Regions from separate parts of the Homo sapiens genome. Here region 1 is linked to region 2. The links are contacts of gene promoters, found by promoter capture Hi-C in blood cells and fetal thymus (Javierre and others, 2016). All regions are on one chromosome and are shown on one strand. The core of a region is centred on a gene start or on the middle of the fragment in contact, and the rest is flanking DNA. Distances in the headings are between cores, read along the strand shown.

What was found. The method cuts DNA at HindIII sites, captures the fragments that hold promoters and counts their contacts. A CHiCAGO score of 5 or more calls a contact.
Region 1: a fragment that was not itself captured here is called in contact with the fragment with the promoter of KCNK9 in region 2 in 3 of 17 cell types (M0 macrophages, M1 macrophages and non-activated CD4 T cells); the score reaches 5.7 in M0 macrophages.

What each region holds. Positions count from the first base shown.
Region 1 is chr8:140,221,954-140,229,004 of GRCh38, forward strand. The region is part of intron 16 of TRAPPC9 (trafficking protein particle complex subunit 9); the gene reads right to left. It overlaps LOC124902029 (a long non-coding RNA gene), which reads left to right. Exons shown (of 2, transcript XR_007061118.1): 2 at 1-1,407. Among named protein-coding and RNA genes, the nearest start is that of PEG13, 120 kb to the left of the region's middle. The HindIII fragment of the contact is 941 bases long and covers 1,637-2,577 here.
Region 2 is chr8:139,701,272-139,709,013 of GRCh38, forward strand. KCNK9 (potassium two pore domain channel subfamily K member 9) reads right to left here and starts at 1,852. Exons shown (of 2, transcript NM_001282534.2): 1 at 1,439-1,852. The coding sequence starts at 1,721. RefSeq lists silencers at 1,575-1,869, 4,578-4,947. The HindIII fragment of the contact is 15,596 bases long and covers 1-5,054 here.

The sequences.
Region 1 (7,051 bases), core at 857-3,356, 520 kb after region 2:
ACAGCTGCCTGATGTGTCCTCCATAAGCACATATTCACATCTACTATGAGTAAAAGCTGAGAGTGCATCAGTCCTTAAAAAGGACAGCTCCTTACCACCTGGATGTGATGACCAAGGCCCCAGCCTTCCCTCTGCGTTTGGACCACGCAGAGCCCATCTCTCTCCTGGGCCTCTGCTGAGCCGCTCCTCAGGCTGGAATGAGTTCCCCTCCCTTCGTGCAGCCAGCTCTCTCTTGCCGCTTGACCTTAGTCTAAGTGCTACCTCCTCACCCAGCTTCAAGCAGCCACCACTCTCTGCCACAAGACCCTACTTAAACCTCCGAGGAGCCACACTCTGCCATCTGGGTTTTTTTCTTACTTGTTAACAGTATCTATCGATTGACGGGTCTAACCCACGAATCATCTTTAAGTCCTCTCTGCATCTCACGTCGCATGTCCAACCCAAAAGGAAATCCTGCTAGCTCTGAGAGTATGTCCAGGGATGGCTTTCGTGGTTCGCACCAACTCAGAGTCACTGTAGTTTTCCTCCTGGCTCTTCTCCCCCGTTGCCTTCACTCCTTTCCCTAAGTCAACTCCCCACACAGCTCGCAGAGTCTCCTGAGGAAAGGGGGCTCACACCCTGCCCCTAGCACTCAAGAGGAAATGTCAAAGTCTGCACTGGTCTCCAAGGCCTCTGCATGATACACCATTTAACAGAAGAGAAGACCTGGCGGAATGAATGAGATATTTGACTGCAGTTTTATATATTCTCAAGAACGTAAAGATACTGCCTCCTGAGGAGTTATCTTCAAGTAGCTGCAGCTCCCTAACAGAACCCAGCTGGCATGCGGGAGAAGTCTACCTATGAGTATGGCGAGTATCACAGACTTCCAGTGTAAACCAGGCCAAGAGAACAAACCACCAGAGGCAACTTGTGCAAGAAATCACGTTCATACTGATTTTGACTTAAGATACATGCAACAGCAGAGACAAAAGAGCAAATGGTAGAAAGTGAGGTTGGTAAGATGTGGACTCACATCAGTATGACACTTTATGCTTTCTAAACTTGCCCTCGTTTTATTTATTCTTTCTTTTTAAGTTCCAGAGTACATGTGCAGGATGTGCAGGTTTATTCCATAGGTAAACGTGTGCCATGGTGGTTTGCTGCACCTATCAACCCATCACCCACGTATTAAACCCAGCATGCATTAGCTATTTTTCCTAATGCTCTCCCTCCCCTCACTCCACCCCACAACAGGCCCCAGCGTGTGTTGTTCCCCTCCCTGTGTCCATGTGTTCTCATTGTTCAGCTTCCACTTGTAAGACAGAACATGCGGTGTTTGGTTTTCTGCTCCTGCGTTAGTTTGCTGAGGATAATGAAACTTGTCCCCATTTTAAAGAACAGCAATAAACAACCTGCTCGCAGTCATACTGGCAGTCATTGATCCTAGGCATCGTACCACACATGAATGGATGTTTAGTAAACTTGATTGGATGGATGGATGGGTAGACGGGTGGCAAGTCTGAAACTCACACTCGGTGCTTTTGATTCTAAGCCTAGGATCCTTTTCGCTTTAACACAGTTGTTGGGAAAGAAAATTTCAATGGCTGCATATCTCAAACGAACCCATCTAAGTAACTTCTTATTAAGAAACTAAAGCTTCTTGTGATAAGATGAAGAGTATTTACTTTTAATTGACACAAAATGTATATTTCCAAATTCGCAATAACTTAGGCCCATGGCCCTATGCCTAATATCTCTTTGCAAAAATATGCAATTAACCAAGCATAATAGAAATAGTTCATAATTTAAAAAAAAAAAAACAAAAACACTTCTCTTAAGCATCATTTGCTAAGGTATGTCCCCTTAAGTAGTTCAATTTTCAGGATGACAAACAATATTCAACTGGGTAAAGAAGAATTAAGCAATTTTCTACTTAGAGGCTTCAAATCTTCAAAAGCTAAATTATCTTACGTTAAAAAATAGTCTACTTGAAAAGTCCATGGCACCTTATGCCCAAAATAGCACATGAAGGAATCAGACATTGTGCATCTACAATAAGAAAAATGACAAACTGATCTGTTTCTGTTGGTGGTGCCTATGGAAGACACGTATGAAGACTGTGATCAAGCACTTAAGAGCAGGGTCCTCTCTGCACTTAGAAGAAAATGGAGGTGCCCAACTGGCCCCTCTTCAAGCACTGCATGTGGGCAGCAAAGGTCCACCTGATGTCCCACAAGCAGCTCAGGCTGAATAGGCATGAAATGAACTTCAGAAGATTCTACTCCTCATAACAAGCTAGACAACTCAGACCAGCTCAGCCACTGAGAACAGCTAGAAAACATGGACAAAGTAGTCTTAAAATCCATGCAAGCATCAGAGAGCTAACAAGAACTACAGGGCTACTGTCTAGCAGAGGGGGAAAGACAGAGACATGAGCCTGACAAACATCCCCTAGAGGTGCCTGCAGATTTCAGAAGAGTTCACCAAGAGAATCTGAGCAGAATCTGAGCAGAACCTTTGACATACTCAAAGGACTCGATGTGAAAAACAGTGGTGTTCAGTGTTCCCCATGGAGAGTGGATAGCAAATCTGGGAAGCTTCAGGTAGGGCCACAAAGCAAAGGGTAGACCGTAAATAAAGCAGCCCTCACTGGGCCTAAGGCCCAGCTTTGAACCATGTCAGTCCCTGCAACTGGTAGGCCATTTTTCTACCAGAATTTATTCCTTGTCACTCCTTGTTCTACCCCCATTTTTTTTTACCTTTATGTATTGGTAATTCTCTTCCCTCTGACAATCTGATATCCTAATATGCCCCAATTTTTGGTCTCAGTTCAAATGCTACCTCTTCCATAATGCCTCCCCTAGCTGTCCTAATGGAAAGCAAGTACGTCTTCCTCAGAGTTCCAGCATCTTCTCTGTCCTGAGACCCGTGCCTACCTCCTGCTGATCTGTATACATGCAGAGAGCCCGGTAGGAGATCAGAGGGGTCGGGGCTGAGGTGCGGCTCCCCTTCTACCTGGCTGAATGAACTTCATCAAGTCAAATAACCTTCTACAAGCTTTAAATCCATCATCCCCTAAATGGGAATAATTAGAACACATATACTGTGAGGTTATACAGAAGAATAAACGAATTATTGCATAGGAAGGATTTATCACAACGCCTGGTACGGGGCAAGCATTCAGTAAAAAGAGCTGTTCTTATTCCTACTGCAGCAAATTATGCATGTCTTACATTCCTTCATGACTACAAACTCCTTGAAGACTGAATTCTTGTCAGATTCACCATTATGCCCCTCATAGTAGCTGATGCAGGCTCTAACAAATTGTAAGCCCTCAGTAAATAGTAACTAAATGAATGAATAAATTACAGGGTCAAATCCAGTATTTAGTTGACACGCACACAGTTTACACACACACGCTCAATAAAAATTCCATCATCCCAAAGTCACATTCAACAACCAACTCCTGGTTAACTGAAATTTCATCAGGTAGATATGTGCGAAGACTTATTTGTAAAGACTCAATCAAAAGCTGTTAAGTTTGAATGAGTTTATTTTCTCTCTTTTTTCTCATTTCTCTCAGCACCATGGACACAATTTATAAAATCTCTCCACGACACCATAATGCCTGCTGTGAAGGGTACTAGTATTATGAACAGAGCCATGTGCAAAACGTAAACTCCACATTTCTCTAGCATGTTACCCCAGGAACCAGGTCAAGCGGACCTCTAAGCAAGCATGGTATGAAAGACCACTCAATGTGACTTCACCCAGTAAGCCGTCCTCTGTTGAGTGAAGGCCAGGTGCCCAAAGGGGTATTTTTGCCATCTCATCTGTGTGTGTGTCTGTGTGTCTCTCTGTATCTCCACCCCTCTCTCTGACATATACACAGGACCCGTAATACAGCCTGGCCAGCTCCTCCCGAGGGAAGGCTCCCATCCTTCGCAAATTACACCAACGCTTTTATCTCCTGAAGGACCCAGATTCTTTTTGTTTGTTTGTTTTTGCCTTGGAAATACCAATCCTATTTTACACTTATAACAATGGTAAATTCTTCATTTCTGGAAATGGTCAGAAGTTTTGGCCTGTAGAGGAAAGCAGAGTGAACATCTGGCTTTTGTCTGCCCAGCATTTCTCGTTTCTTTGGGGAGCAGCTCCTTCTTCATCCCATGTGGTTCTGGTGGGATCAAGGTTGGCCTTGATCCTGCCATGGCCAGAGATGAAAACATCCCATCAACAGTGTGTATCCAGAGAACAAACAGAAGGTACGAGAAGGGACATGAAAAGCCCTCCTTTGAGATTTGATTTACAAATTCTAGGAAGAAAAGACTCCGGTTTGTCTTCCTCTGAATCACGTTATAAAGATCCAGCTATGGGCCAGCGTGGTGGCTCACACCTGTAATCTCAGTACTTTAGGAGGCTGAGGTGGGCGGATCACTTCAGGTCAGGAGTTTAAGACCAGCCTGGGCAACATGGTGAAACCCCATCTCTACTAAAAATACAAAAAACAGCTGGGCGTGGTGGTGCATGCCTATAGTCCCAGCTACTGGGGAGGCTAAGACAGGAGAACTGGTTGAACCTGAGAGGCAGAGGTTGCAGTAAGCTGAGATCACACCACTGCACTCCAGCCTGGGTGACAGGGAGAGACTCGGTCTCAAAAAAAAAAAAAAAGAAAGAAAAAGAAAAAGGAAAAAAAAAAGAAAAAGATCCAGGTATGGGGCCTGCCTGCAACCCTCCTTCCACAACACATTGAGATACCCTGGGCAACACACAACTCTATGAACCTTAGTTTTCTTGGCTCTAAAACAGGAACCAACTAAAAAACTCAATGAGATTTGATGTAAAAGTACTTCAGAAAAACACAAATCAGCAATGTTTTAGAACTAGGAGGCTGTGGGATATGAGCACTTTGCAAAAAAAAAAAGAAAAAAGTCTTAAAATTCCATCTGAAATTTGCCTCCTTTTTGGACACAGACCTCAAAATCTCCAAGAAACCCCCAAAACCTGTCATCTTCAAGCTCAGAAAAATACTAAGAAAGCCACTCCATGGATTCTTTATAGACTACAGAAGTCTGTTCTCAAATCCAACTAAAGATACAAAACACAAGAAGCATATAAATTACAAATGGGGACAGGTAGGAGGCAGAAGCCAGCCTTCGGAAAACTGAAGCTGAGCCCTTCGCCCATACAGGAACAGAGCTGGAGAGAAGGGGGCAGCTGCAGAGGGATGGCGAGAGATGAGATGGAATAAGATGTCGTGAGCAGGGAAGCAAATCACTGGGCGCGCCTGGGAAGGATCTCTCTCCAGCTGGGGTGGGGTGGAGGGGAGAAAATTATGTTCAATCATTTAGCCAATTTTTCTGCCAACACAGGCTATCACAAATAGAACAGAGAACAGATTGGGATGACAATTAATAGGAAGACAGGACAAAAAAAGTTACAAACAGATGAAGGCGGCCTAGTAGGAGGACTAAAGAGTTTAGTGGATTTATCAGGACAGAGGGTATTTAAGAATGGTATGAGTCTGGTAGATCATCATGAATAAAACTGAGCTTTCAGAGAGAATTTCATACTTCCCATTTATAGTGCTCAACTTTTCTATTAAGAGCAACTCTGTGGGAAATTCAGAAAGACAATTTTGTATGCTAAAATAATACTTCTCTCTAGAATTCAGCCATATCCCAACCATGATGACAATTGGGGAAAATGACAGCTGAAAGCAGAATTTGTGCAGGGGAAAGAAAAAGCAGAGTCACAATAAAAACAGCTCTTCTAGAAAGGGGTGAGGGCCAAGGGCCACGTCCGTGGCCTGGCACCAGGCGCTCAGTGCACACCATCCAACTCTTCACACCCTGCAAAGTCAGGCATTCTCTTACCAATTCTACAGATGAAGAAGCTGAGGCTCTGAGAAGGTAAGTACCTTGCTCAATATCACACAGCTCATCAGAAGCACAGCCAGAACTAGGCCTCATGACAACTGGATTGGTCACTACCCAGCAAAACTGACCCAAGGAATACATTTCAGTCCCCACACTGAGCTTCCAGAAAAGCTCACCAGCCAAGGTTGTTCTGTAGCACATCACTGGGTCAAAACTGTACACCATGCGTTCCACTAAACCGATCACAAGGACCCTTGCAGGGGCTTAGCATCTATCTCCAGTGGTGGGATCTATGCAGGGATGTGTCCATTTTGGTACACTTTCAAAAGAGACACTAATGCATAAGGTTGAATACATTTTACTCTCTTGTGAGAGGCACCAAAAATAAACTAGAATAAAATACATTAACAAAGGCAACAGGAGGCAACAATCGCTCAGTGGGAGTTTGTCAGGGTATGCTGTTCCAGGTAGAATATATTTTAAAGATGCTTTCTCATTTAGTCATAAAATCTACAGGTGCCAAAAAAGCCCATCTGGTTATCATAAAATATCCTCAAGAAAACCAAAGCAGTAGAAGCAGTTGGCTAAGAAATTAGCCAATACTCATCCTTAATTTCCATAAAGAAAGCGGCATGCTCGTTCATTCAGAAACTTTGGAATATGCTTAGGAAAGAAAAAATAATCATACAGGAATAGTGGCCTTCACATACTATTCAAATGGCAACAGTCCACATTCCCCATGGGCAGCCTCACTTTGAGATTGGTCTTCCTTCTGTTGGATGCTCCCTGCAGTGGGACCAGACGTAAAGTCCTCTGCCCTCACTGACATCAGAAGCCTCCATGTACAGGAGGCTGTAACTACCAGCTGAACACGTGAAATGTTCTGGGTGGTTCCCAGCTTGTTCTAAACTTAGACTGTGGGGACGATTGCACAACCCTGTGGATACACTAAAAGTGACTGAATTGTGCCTCACGTGAATTCTATCACAACAAATATTTTTTAAAAACTAAAAGGGTAGTACAACTGTGTTACAGTACAACACACTTTGAGGGTAGGGGGGAAGATAAAGAGAAAAGAGAGATTATATCCAAATGAATAACGATTAGACCAGAAGCTAACCTCCCAGCAGCAAGGGAAGTCATAAGAATTCATCTTCAAAATATGAAAGAAAATTCATCTGCTACACTAG
Region 2 (7,742 bases), core at 602-3,101:
ATTATGTAGATAACAGAAGGACAATTTCCTTCACAAACAGAAAAACCTGCACCAATGAATTAAACATTTAAAACAAGATGACTCTCTAAAAAGTATTTTCAACCAAGAAGGAAAGACAGGCCGTCCTGTGCTGGCGCTTCCTGTTGCATATGGCACTGAGAAATCCTTTTTTTTTCAGTATGCAGAGATTTCCAGACAAAGAAAAATATCAAGAGGGAAATTAGAGGAGGAGGTCCAGAGAAGCGAGACAGGAGGAGCTGGGAAGAAGGGAGGGGGGAAGGAGGAGGTCCCTGCCCAGGGCACAGGGGTGTGAAGCCCTGAGGGGTGCAGGAAACAGACCACCCCCACTAACACACTGGCCTTGGCAAGTCCAAGGAGATGGCCCTAGAGAGGCAGCCTGCCTCACTGGGGCAAGTGAACCACAGAGACACCACCCTGCCTCCTGCCATGCAGGGTATCCACCACGTCCACCCGAATGAAGGTACCTGCCCCAGCTCCCACAGGTCTCCAAGTATAACGTCCGGGAGTCCTCCCAGCCCCCAGCCTTAGAGGGGACACTGCCCTCGGGACCGACCAGAGACCCTGCTCTGTGAATAGCGCCCTTGGCAGTGGGGCTGGCGGGCATCCCTGCAGTTTACCAGCTGGACCCCCTCTCGTGACTGGGGCTCAAGTTCCCTGGTTTCTGGGCAATGTCTAGACTGGCCTTTCCCAGTGTCACAGCCTAGGGAGTGGGCAGGTTCTGCCCTGCCCCCACTCTCCACCTCTACTGAGAGCAATTGAGGGGCTGCCACCCCCAACGCAAGCACCAGAGAGCAAACTCTCTCCTCCCAGGGGCCTGGGAAGTCCAAGCTCCAGAACTGGAACTCAGGGGAAAAAAGGAGCCGGGCGGGGGGAAGAGAGATGAAATCTGAGCTCAGAGAAGCCTGGAGCGGGGCCCAGGGGCTACGGAGGGTCAGTGCCTCTCACGCCCCAGGCGCACTCCCCTGCCACCTGAGTCCCTCTAGGAGCCATGGGTGCCAGGCCAGCCCTCTCCAACTCCCAGAGAGGTAGTAAGTGTAAGGCTCAGAGCCCCGCGCAGCCCAGCCCGCGCCGGGGCGGTGGGTGGGTGGGTGTCTGCTATGGGATTATTCTTAGCGCTCCACTCTCTTCGCAAAAGTGGCGCCTCCGCCCTCCCGGCTCAGGCACACTCGCTCGGGGCTCGCACGCCCGGCCCAGACACCAGCGCGGTGGAGAGCACCGGGTGGGGTCCCCGAAGGGTGAGGCTCGGAGGCGCCGCGGAGGGGGGGCTCCCTAGAGAGGAGGGGGCGCTGCGGGAAGGCCCCCAAGGGAGGCTGCGTTTAACCCTCGACGCCCTGCACCCAGCCCGGCGCGGCGCGCTCAGCCGCCTCCCCGGACTCCTCCCGGGGCGCGGGAGCCCAGCGGCGCGCCCAGCCCTTACCTATGGTGGTGATGACCGTGATCGCAAAGTAGAAGGAGCCGGCGAATTTCCACTGGACGCCGGCGCGGTGCGGTTCCGACTGCAGGATCACCAGCTCCAGCTGCCGGTAGTCCTCGCTGCTGATGTTGTACTTCCCCTTGATCCGGATCTCCTCGGCTTTGAGTTTCTCCTCCTCGCGCATCTCGTGGTCCGACTCGAGGGCGTCGAACACGGCGGCGCCCACCAGCAGGTAGGTGAAGGTGCAGACGATGAGGGACAGAGTCCGCACGTTCTGCCTCTTCATGGCCGCCAGCAAGGAGCCGGCGCGGGGGGCATGTCCCGCAGGCTCACAGCCGCGCGCGTCCCACTGCAGCGCCCGGCGGCCGCCGCCGCCTCCTCCTCCGCCGCCGCCGCCGCCGCCTCCAAGTTGTAAGCGGCGGCGGCAGCAGCAGCAGCAGCAGCGGGGAGGCGGGGGGCGGGGAGGCTGGGGGGGGCCCCCTCCGCTGGGGCCGCCACAGCCACCGCCACCGCGAGGCGGCTGGCGGGGCAGGGGCGGCGCGGGCCCGGGCTCAGCCGAGAAGGCGGACAGGCACAGGAGGCTGCTCGAGCGCCGGGGCCAGGCGTCCGGGAACCCCGACACCCTGCGCCAGACCCGGCCGAAGCAGCCCGCCCCACTGCGCAGGGCCATGCAGGGCGGCCCCGCTGGGTACCGCGCGGGCCTTGCTGCCCTCCGCACCCCGCCCCCCGCTCCCGCGGGAAACGCAGGGACGGGAACCGGAGCCAGAAAGCGGCCGGAGGGCGGCCGCGGGGCCCGGTACCCCTGTGGGTCCAGCTCGCGGGTGGCGGTGCCCAGCAAGGAGCCTGCAGGTCCGCGCGCCCAGCGGAACCTGCTTCCCCTTTTACCCCTCCTCGCCCCCTCTCGGTGGTGGGGAGGAAAAGTTTGCGAAGTGGCGGTGTCTCTGGAGTCCCCTGCAAGCGGGGAGGGGGCCGAGCAGGTGCAGCGGGAGGGGCAGCCCGCTCCCCAAAGGTCCGCGCGCCCAGCGCCCACCCGGGCGCGCGGGTGCGCAGCGGGGTCCCCGCCGGGCGTCGGCCGGTGCGCGAAGTTTGCTCGGCTCAACCCCCAAGGCGCGGGAGCGGGGCGCGGCCCCAGGACGGCAGGGACCGCGATGGAGCGGCTTCGGGGGCGGCCGGGGGACGGCGCGGTGGCGGTCGGCCAGCCCGCTCCTCCGGGGGCGGCGGGCGCGGCGGCGGCGGCGGGAGGGGTCCCGCGGGCCTCGCGGAGCAGCGGGGCGGACGCGGGCGCATGAGCCGCGCGGGGGTCGGGGCCCTCCGGCGTCCGGGCGTCCCGGGAGGCGGCCGCCGCGCTGGTCTGCCCCGGGCGCTACGTGCGTGCGCGCCGTTGGGAGCCCGAATGTGTGTGTGCGCGTGTGTATGTGCGTGTGTGTGTGTGTGTGTGTGTGCGCTTGGCAGCCCCGCTCCGGCGGGAGGGCCTCGGGGAGCGGGGGCCGGGCTACGCCGAGGCCGGGCCTCCCTCCCTCCCTCCCTCCCGCAGCCTCCAGGGCGCGCCACCTCCCGCCTGGTCCCCAGCCAGCTGGCGAGGCTGCTGTGGCAGCTCCCGCTGCAGACCCAGCGCGGCGCAGGGCGCACGCGGAGGGAGCCCGGGAGGGGCGGCCTGAGCCGCCAGGGAGGGGGCGGGGGCGGAGCCGCCGGCGGGTTTTGGCGGGGGATGGGAGGATAAACGCGGCTTCTTGGGTCCTTCTAGCCCCGCTCCCCAAGAGCGCAAGCAGCCCTGGCGGGTGGAGAGTTTGAGGGACTCGGGGTTGGAGGAGGAAAACGGGATTCAGCCAGAGATGGCAGGCTGACAGCTTCAGGCAGATTGGGCAGAGAGTGGGGAGCAGAAGGGGAGGGGGCCATGGGCACACAGGAGAGCGGCAGCAGCGGTTCACGAAGTCTTCCCCACCCCCCACCCCCCACCTAGCCACCCGGCGCGGGAGCGTGTCATTGGCCAGGGACATGGCCTCGTGGAGTGGTGGGGTCCCGAGGGCTGCCTCGGCCCCCTCGCCTCCCAGCGGCACAGCCCGCTTGGGCCAGCACCTGCAGACCCGAGTCGTTTCCCTGGAGAGCGCTAAGGACAGCATGGGCCGCCACTTTTGGAGTCAGGACAGCGGGGAAAGACATCGCAATCCCCCGACCCAGTAACCTCTCTGTTGCTTTACTGAAGGAAAAAAAAAAAATACACACACACACACACACACACACACACACACACACACACACACATATATATATATATATATATATATATAATCACTCTTTGATATATATAATCACTCTTTGGTTCCCCACAGCTGGGCGCAAGGTGCGCCGTGGATGCAGCCCTGAGCCACGCGATAGCCCCCTCGAGACCACCTGGGGTAGGAACACGAGGCTCGGGCTGGGGCGCACCTATTCCCTGCTTCCAGATGAGCCCTCTCCAGGCTTTATCTCCTTCCCATTTTGGCCTCCTTTACCTCCTCCCCCTCCCCGCCCTCTCCCTTTAGGCTATCGAGGGGCTTTTCCTTGACCTTCGGCTTCCTGAATCCCGCCTGGAGCCCTGGAGCTCCAAAAGGACAGACCCAAGCCTCAGAGACCCCTGGGCTCCTCTTCCTCTCCTGACCCCAGCCAAGGAAGGGATGGAGATGGGAAAGAGTTGCCTGGCGGCAGGCTAGCAGCTGGCCAAGGGGTGGCTGGGGAATCAGACCTAACCCTCGGGCAGCTCGCGGGCTCCAGGAGACCAGTCCCTTCTGTGGGTCGCCCCCTGGAGCGGTGCTCGGGCTCCCTGGCCTCAGGGACCCCGGGCCCAGAGGGTCTGGGACCCCAGTGATTCACCGAGGCCTCCCAGCTGGGACGCTCTGCACCCCACTTTCAGGGATCACGGGTGCCCACCAGGGAAGGGGAGCCCGCGCTGTGGGCTACGTCTGAGCCGTCAGGTCCTCGCTGGGTCTGCGGGCGCCCTGGGGCGAGGGAGCGGGGAGCCCTACCCCGAGCAGGCACTCTCCCCAGATTCATTTTGGAAACCAAGGCCCCCGCGCTCGGCAAGTGAGCCTGGCTGCCGGGTGAGTCACCGCGAGCGGGCGACAAGGATTCCCAGCAGCTGGTAATTAATTGCGCCGTGGCTCAGCCCACGACGGAACCCCAGTCAGGCCTCCCGCCGCCCTGGCAGCGGCGCCACCCCTGAGTCACAGCCGTCGGGCCTCCGCGCGGTCCGGAAGCCGCCTGCCCGCCTCGGCGCCACCAGGGGGCACTGGACTCCGACCCACGCGGCGGCCGCGCAGCCGGCCTCGCTGCGGGGAAGTCCAGGCTGTCCCCGCGGCAGCGCGGGCGGGGGAGGGGCGCGCCGGCAGACGCCGCGCTCTGCAGAGCCACTTCGATTTGGTTTACGGAACTCCATTTGCATACAGCCTTTCAGGAAAGCGCAACCGCTGTATGAGTACTGGAAGGACCTCTGAGATGAATTACTCCAAACCCCTTGTTTTACAGATGGGAAAACTTCCAGCAAGACAGGATCACGTGCCCAGGATCCCACAGTGATTCCGATGTGGAGCCAGCCCTGGAAGCCTCTCCGTGGCTTAAGGACCCCCGCTGCTTTCTGGCCCCAAGCTTAGAGTGCCTTGAGTGGCCACCTACCAGCCCCCAGACCCTGGTTCTTCCTCTCTTCCACCCGTGGGAATAGACCCGTGGACTCAGGACCTCCCAGGCAGTGTCTGAGCCGTGGAAGCAGAGGGTTCCTCGTCCGCCCGTCCACACCCCACATGTGCCACTTTCCAAGGCGCTGGACCTGCGGGTGGAATGGGAGCTCCTGGGAGCAAAGCCTGGGGCTCAATCAAGCATCCTCCCTACATCCCCAGCATCCATCCCGGATGGTGTGTGCCACACAGCAGCCCAGAGAGTCTGGCTGGGGGCAGCGCCTCTGCGTGCCTGCCTCCCTGGCAGCCCGGGTGGGTCTGGGTGTCCCAACTCTAGCCCCACCTCGAGAAGCGTGTGGAACTGAGGTGTGGCCAATCAGAGTCCAGAATTCCCCAGAGCCACGGTGATTGGCTGGATTTGGACGTGTGAAGGCCCACCTCAACCAATCAGAGCCCTCCTCTGGGTAGGGCTGTCAGCAGATAGGTGACCTGAGGAGGGAGGCGGGTCCTTCCCGACTCTTTGAGAACCCCAATGCAGGCACGTGGCGCACACGCGAGCCACCCAACTGGGGTGAGCAAGTGCATTCTCTTGTGGGCTTAAGCCACAGTCAGTTGGTCCCAAGCCTGTCCGGTGCTCCTGGTGCCCATGCGCTGTGTTTACAGCCTGTCTGCGCCCTCCAGCAGCCCCAACATGGGCCTCCCTTGGACCTCAGTTTCTGTAAAAACAGATGTACCTTATTAGCTAATAAAGAACATCATGGTTTTATAACTCTATCTGCTTGCTGCCTACTTGTTTGCTTCATTCTTTACACACAGTGGGTGTGCCTGCAGCCCCTGTTCTTACCCAGAGAGGCCCAGCAGTTTATCCTGGTCCCACAGTGAGTAAGGGAGGACCCAATTCCCAGGCCAGTACTTCTTCCACATCACCGCAGTGTGTCTGGGCCAGGGTGGGCTGTCTGCTGCTCCACGACATCCTGATTCCTTGGTATGTTCAACGCTTTGTCACATTAATGCCCACATCTTTGAAAATAGGCAGGGGTGCACACTCATCATACCCATTTTACAGATGGGGAAGGCTAAAGAGGGGAGTGGGGCCATGGGTGGGCTCACTGATCCTGGCGTACAGCCTGCCCTTCCCTCCACCTCTGCCCGGGGCAGACATCGCTCATTGATCTCAGCACTGTCTTTGGCTGGGATCTAGTACAGCCAGAGAATCTTGAACACAGGGGTACACATAAGGCCATTCCTGGACTTAACACTGACCTATGTCCTTTCAAGGAAGGTAAGGCACCAAGGAGTCCAGTGGCCCCAAATCACAGAGAGAGTCTGTGATGAGTCTCCTCTTCCTCAGTGGCCTCCCTGCCCAAAGTAGATATTCCTCACTCTGCTCTTAGCTGATTTCTCAAGGCCAGTGACATTTGCACAGTTGATGGCACAGCTGATAACTTTAGACCTCCAGCAGTGTCAGATTCCGGAGAAAAGCACTCCCAAGACAGGCAGCCATGCTCATCCAGGGGTTCCCAGCCTCCTCTTCAGGATGTGAACAAGTGTGTTGTGTGGTTACACAGTTTGAGAAACATTGGGTTAAACGGGGGCAAGTGCAAGACTTCTCAGAGCCTTTGTTCTGCTAACAGACATGGTGACCCCTAGATGGGAGTGCTGTGAGCAGTGTTTCCCAAACTCATTCAGCTGCAGCATCGGGTCCTGAGGACTGTGCTTTGGGGAATTGCTGGCCAGCCCAGATACCTTTACTGGGAGGCAGGAGGTCTTGGTTCCGCTTCTCGCTCTGCATAGACAAGCCCTGCACCAGTTCTGATCCTTCAGCCACCTCACTGTCCCTGCTGCCTGCAACTGAACCTCCCCTTCTCTTCTCCACCTGCCACCAGGGCCACCTTCTTAACAGGCTGACTCTTGCACATCCATGGTGAAAACTGTCCATGAGCCTGTGGGTCAAGTCTAAGCTCAGCCTGGCATTCCCATCCTGATAGCTGGCCTCCATGACCTCTCTCGCCCAGCCCCTCCTCCTCATCTTTTAGGATTCAGCTCTGGCAGTGTCTCCTCCAGAAGTTTCCCTGCCCCTGCAGACTGGACTAGACCCCTGTGTCCCTGCATGTACTCCTGGCAGAATGCTTCTACCACAATGACTCATTTGGGGGACTGCCACTCTCCCCCCCCCAGACTTTCAGCTCCTTGAAGGCAGGGGCCACATCTGACCCAACCTGGCCACAAAGGGCCTGCCACACAGTAGGTGCACAATGAATGTTTGATGAGAATGAAAGAACAGAGTTTGGTTCAATCACCAGTCATCACTCCTTGTGAGACCTCTCACAGGAAGGCAGAAGAAGTAGATGCAGGAGAGTCAGGGAACACAAGGCTGTGCATATGGCAGAGATGGCCCAGGCCATGACTGAGAGAGTGCCCCCAAGGTTTAGGCCTTGGCTCTAATGTCTGTGGATGTCCAATATAGCGAGGAGGGAGGAAAAGGAACAAGACAGACAGAGGTGGAAGAGAAATAATAAAGCAGAGAAAGAGGCTCAAGTGGTGGAAAGAGAGGGGAATGAGGCTATAGAGAGGAGTGGGGCCATGGGTGGGCTCACTGATCCTGGCATACAGCCTGCCCTTCCCTCCACCTCTGTCCAGAGCAGACATTGCTAATCGAT